Linked DNA regions of Homo sapiens: region 2 is linked to region 1. Evidence: promoter capture Hi-C in human tissues and cell types (Jung and others, 2019). All regions are on one chromosome and are shown on one strand. The core of a region is centred on a gene start or on the middle of the fragment in contact, and the rest is flanking DNA. Distances in the headings are between cores, read along the strand shown. Region 1 holds the start of CHD7 (chromodomain helicase DNA binding protein 7). Region 2 overlaps LINC01301 (long intergenic non-protein coding RNA 1301).

Region 1 (2,700 bases), core at 10-2,509:
CCCGGCGCTCGCCCCGGCCCCGCTCCCTTTCTTCTCCTCCTAGCGCACTTGGGAGCCGCCGGGGAGCCCCAGGAGCCCCCAACTCCGGGCTCGCAACTCCGCGCCCGCGACCGGCACTGGCTGAGCTCGGGACGCCTCCCGCGCCGCGTGTTCGCGCTGCCCCCGCCCCACGCGGCGCCCCGCGCACTTTCCCCGCCGCCGACCCACCTCGCTCGGTGGCGGTCCCCGCGCGGGCTGGCGCCGCCGCGCCGGGAGGAACGCACTTTGTTCGCGCCGGTGCGGCCGCAGCTCCCGGCGAGCGCGGCGTGGTCGGTCCGGAGCGGGGGGCGGGGGCGGGAGGCGGGGGTCGCCGCCGTCCCCGAGCCGCCGCCGCCGCTGCTCAGCCGCCCCGCGCCCGCGCGCCCATCGCCCGCTCGCACTTGAGTTGGAGCCCAACTTTTCCTCCTTCCTTTTTCTCTCGAATGGAGCCGGCAACTCGTGCTCGGCGCCGGCGGGAGGAAACGCGCTCGCGCTCCCCCGCGCGCAGACACGCTCCCTCCTGTCCCCCGTACCCCCCCCCCACGCCGGCAGCACAACAAAAAGCCATTTACATGCGAGGAAGTGACCCTCGGCCGCACCGCGCGCCCCCGCCGCCGCCGGCCCGGCGGACGCAGGCAAAAGTTGGGGCGCCGGGCGGCGCTCGGGGCGCGGGTTCGGGCCCCGCGGGCGGCGACGCCGGCGACACTACGCGGGCGGCGCTGCGCTCCTGCGCTGGCCCCGGCCCCCTCCCGCCCTCGCCCCTCGCCCCTCGCCCCGCACACGCCCAACTCCTCGCTCCCAACTCCTAGCGCGGCCCCGGCCCCGGCCCGGAGCGATTTCCTGCCGCCGCCGCCGCCGCCGCCCCTCCCGGGGGCGCCGGGCGAACTCTCGCGCTCACCGGGTCGGTCGGGCTCCTCCGCTGCCTAGTGCCGAGGGGAAAACAAAACGCAGAGCGGGCTCCGGAGTTGGCTCGGCAGCTGCGGCCAGGGGGCTGAATCCACGGGCACGGAGTTGGCCGGGGGCGAACGGGTCTCTGGTGAGTTTCAGGGTGTCCGGGTCCCCGGGCCGCCTCCTCCGCGGCGCTCCTTTGTGTAATTTCACTCGATTCAAGTTTAATCCGATAGTTCCCGAGCACGAGCGCGTCCGCACCACCACGACTCAACCCCCGCGCCGCCGCCGCCGCCGCCGCTGCCGCCGCCGCCGCCGCCGCCGCCGCGGCCCCAGCACGCCAGCGCCTGCGCGCGTCCGGCACGCCGCGCGCACCCGAAGCCGCGGGGCCGCGCGCGCCCGCCGCCAGCTCCCTCCGGGCCGCGCCGCGCCCGCGCCCGCGCCCGCGCGCCGCCACCTGACGTCAGGCGCGCCTGGCATAATTTATGCAAGAATTCGGCCGGGGTGGCGGAGGCCGAGGGAGAGGCCGAGAGAAAAGGGGCGGCGCGGAGCTGCTGGGCCGCGGGCCGCGGGCCGCAAGGGCGGGCCGGGCGCCACTTCCCGTCCCCTGGCGGGCGCCGGCGCTTCAGGCGGGTCTCCCCGCCGGCCGGTGCGCTGCTGCCGCGGAGTCTTCCTTGCCCGGCTGCACGGAGCGCTCGGCCGCTGCGCCCGGGCGCGGACTGGAGGGGCTGCTGCCACGTCTCCCGCGCGGCACCTTCCCGGAGCCGGGTGCGCCGCCCCGGGGCAGGAAGCGGGGCTCCGGGAGGGCTGCGACCCTCCTGGCTGCCGCGAAGGGTTTCCGACGCTGCGCGGCCGGCGGCGGCCGGGGGTGACTGGCAGTCTCTGCAGTAATTATCCTTCAACTTGAAATTATTTTCCCACATGAAATTATTCGGAAGGGACATGTTCCATTCCAGATGGGTTCGTGCCTGCTTCTCCACATCGCTTTTCCCACCTCTTCGTGGATAGGACACCGGATCCACTACTTAATCAAAAAGTTTAACTAGATGGCATTGATTTTGTCGAATTTGTTACCATACCAAAAAAGAGAGAGAAGGCAGAGAGCTCAATGATTATGAAACAAAGAAATAGGATGTATGCCCATTATTAAACGTGTCGGGACTAGAATGTTTTACTCATTCTTTGGCCAAAATGGCACTTGTATCTGATTGCATAGTCTTAAAAATCCGAGCCTCTTATTCCATTTCTCTTCCCGGTACAAAATGAATGTTAAACCTGAAGAAAAAAAACTTTTTTTTACTAATTTTTATTTTAGGAAATAGATCTACAAACATGGATTAAGCCTCTTCTATCTGCAAAATACGGAGCAATTATAATGTGTTTAAACCATCAATTGTAAACTTTAAGATAATTTTATTAGGTTAAAGATTGCACTTATTTTAAAATCAGGAAAGGAACTCATATCAACCAAAGATTGCCCTATGGCAGGTACAGACTGACTGGTTATTACTGGACTCCAAAATAAACTGAGAAAATAGCAAAACTATGTAAAATGTACTAATCTCACTCACTGATGGTTACACTACCTGTAGTGCTAAGCCTGTAATCACAATATTGTTATTTGGACAAAAGATTAATCAAAACTATCTCATTAAGTAACTACTGCAACTATTCAATAAGTTTGATTATCCTAGACTTAATCACTAAGACATTGATTTTCTGATTTTAGTAATAATTCTATAAATATATCACATTATATTGTGGTTTGTTAAATGCACTGCTTTTAGCTTGCTT
Region 2 (2,700 bases), core at 135-2,634, 270 kb after region 1:
TATTTATTTATTTTTTGAGACAGAGTCTCTGTCGCCTGGGCTGGAGTGCAGTGGCACGATTTTGGTTCACTGCACCCTCCTCCTCCTGGGTTCAAGTGATTCTCCTGCCTCAGCCTCCCAAGAAGCTGTGATTACAGGCACCCACCAGCATGCCCAGCTAATTTTTTGTTTTTAGTAGAGACAGGGTTTTGCCATGTTGGCCATGCTGCTCTTGAGCTCCTGACCTCAAGTGATCCACCTGCCTCGGCCTCCCAAAGTGCTGGGATTACAGGTGTGAGCCACCATGGCTGTTTAAACCTTCCCACACTGGTTTCCCATGGTAAGGAACACCCTCATTCATATCACTTTAAGACACATCTTAGTTAATATCCCGTATCTCCAGCTGTTCAATTCCCTCTCCCTCTAACTTTACAGTTTTTACTCCATTTTTGCTCAAATGCCTTATTCTGAGCATGCCTCTGCCACATGGCTGCTCTTGGAATGTAGGAAAACCATCACATGCTAGGACTGGGATTCCAAAACATTTCCTCCATAAAGGAAACCACCAGCCACTGTGGGGCAGCTCTATGTGTAGAACTCTCAGCTCACTGTCACCTAAGGGGCTGGCTGTAGCTTAGTCTTCCCAAGAAATCCACTGCTGTGTATATACACGCAGTAGCCACTGAACCACCTGCTGAGCCACAATGCATGCTTGGGTTGGCCTTGATGCCATTGTTCCCTGGGTGGAACCCCACCCCCTCCAACCCCCAACCCAAGAGGCCTATTTGCTCCATGTTTGCTTTTTAGGGTAAAAGAGAGAGGCAAAAGGCCCATGGTAATGCTAGACTTTGGAAGTAAGTCTCAGAGAATAATGATGCTGAAAAGAAAGATAAAATTTTGCTGACAATTATAATACATAGTGAAGGTGTAGAGTTTCTAGTTCCTGTTGAAATGAAAAAGAATTGGGTCTCTACTTGGAGGGTGAGAAGGATGGAGTCTAGGGAAAAAGGGATGTTTGAGTTCCAGATATCCGTTTATGTGTGAGAGTTATAGAGTGGATGGAAATGGAATGGTTTGCACTTTACAAAGCACTTCTAAGTATCCATCCATCCATGCATACATCCATCATTTATTTATTTAGCATATTCCAGGGTTCATTCTAGGCCATGAGAATGCAGAGGTGGAAAGAGGAAAATCTCAGTCTATTTGGTGGTACAGGCAGCACAAAAGGTCATTACAATGTGATATGCCAAGAATTGTGAAGAGGCCATTGATGGCTGGGCGCAGTGGCTCATGCCTGTAATCCCACCACTTTGGGAGGCCAAGACAGGTGGATCACGAGGTCAGGTGTTTGAGACCAGCCTGACCAACATGGTGAAACCCTGTCTCCACTAAAAATACAAAAATTAGCCAGGCGTGGTGGCACCAGCCTGTAATTCCAGCTACTCGGGAGGCTGAGGAGGTTGCAGTGAGCCGAGATCGCGCCACTGCACTCCAGCCTGGGTGACAGAGTGAGACTCCGTCTCAAAAAAAAAAAAAAAAAAAAAAAGCCATTGATAACTGTAAAGAGGCCTTTAATGGGATATTAGGGCGCACAGAAGGACTAAGTCAGGAAACACAAAGTGGAGACAATTAGCCTGGATTTTGCAGAACATGTAGGAGTTTGCTATGTGGAGAAGAGGAAGAGAGCATTTTAGATGCAGGCAAAGGCCTGGAGTTACATACAAAAAGGAGCTGATCTCTGGAGGTTGGGATTTTGACCAGTTCTGTGGGTGATTGGAGCGATTTTGATTAGGCAAAATCAGCCCAGATGAAGTAAGGAAGGGGGGAGAAGAAACTCACCTGACCCCCTTCCTGCACCTTTGCTGGGTTTCATTCTTTTGTTGTCAGAGGGAATGGGCTTGGAAAGTGTGTAATGAAATAACAAAATGAATAACACTTTGAGAGAGTTGTTCTCACCCAGGGATGCACTTCAGAATCTCTTTGGGAAGTTTTTGAAATTTACATGGCCAGGCCTGACATCTGACTCAGAGGCCCAGGGTGGAGTCAGCACTGACCTGCTCTGCAGAGCTTCTCATGGTGTCCTTGGGTGGGAACACGTGTCACGTGTGTTTCCTCTACTGGGAGTATCTGCCTATCGGAAGAAAGGGCACAGGTGCTATACAGCCATCTCTGGAGATAGTGCCTGTGGAATTTTTCAGGGTAACTACACCCTTTATTCTGCTAGCTGGGTGAGAATTCTAATGATAGCAACGTCTGCCAGTGTTCCCAGGAATCTCAATTTCAGAAGATAGTTTCAAATAAGATTTTCTAATCTCTTCTAGAGTTCCAGAGTCTATTTACATCCCATTCCTTTGTTAATGTTTATAGTCAGGTTTTATCATCATATTAGAGATGGGGAAGAGGCTGATGGGGGCCTCCTTGGGTGTTGGCAGTGCTTGATTTCTTGCCTGGTTATTGATTCCATGGGTGTATTCATGTTGTATAAATTCAGTGAGGTGCTCATTGAGCATTTGTGCACTTTTCAGTAAATATATGATACTGCATTTAAAAGTCAATTTAAAAACAAATGAATATATTTAAGAGTTGAAATTACAGTACCATGAATGCAGAGACCGTTTTCCCCATGACTAAGTCCCCAAAGGCTGATGTACTCCTAGGATGACTGGCCCAGTGGCTCTGTGCTTTGCCAAGGATGCAGTCTGGCGCCCCAGCAGGGAC

What was found. The method cuts DNA at HindIII sites, captures the fragments that hold promoters and counts their contacts. A contact is called where the count stands out against the background at its distance.
Region 2: a contact is called between a fragment that was not itself captured here and the fragment with the promoter of CHD7 in region 1, in 1 of the 25 tissues and cell types used here (dorsolateral prefrontal cortex).

The regions. Positions count from the first base shown.
Region 1 is chr8:60,677,299-60,679,998 of GRCh38, reverse strand. CHD7 (chromodomain helicase DNA binding protein 7) reads right to left here and starts at 1,259. Exons shown (of 38, transcript NM_017780.4): 1 at 917-1,259. RefSeq lists silencers at 1-151, 812-911, 1,272-1,711. The HindIII fragment of the contact is 11,242 bases long and covers 1-2,700 here.
Region 2 is chr8:60,405,406-60,408,105 of GRCh38, reverse strand. The region is part of intron 2 of LINC01301 (long intergenic non-protein coding RNA 1301); the gene reads left to right. Among named protein-coding and RNA genes, the nearest start is that of LINC01301, 7.1 kb to the left of the region's middle. The HindIII fragment of the contact is 9,187 bases long and covers 1-2,700 here.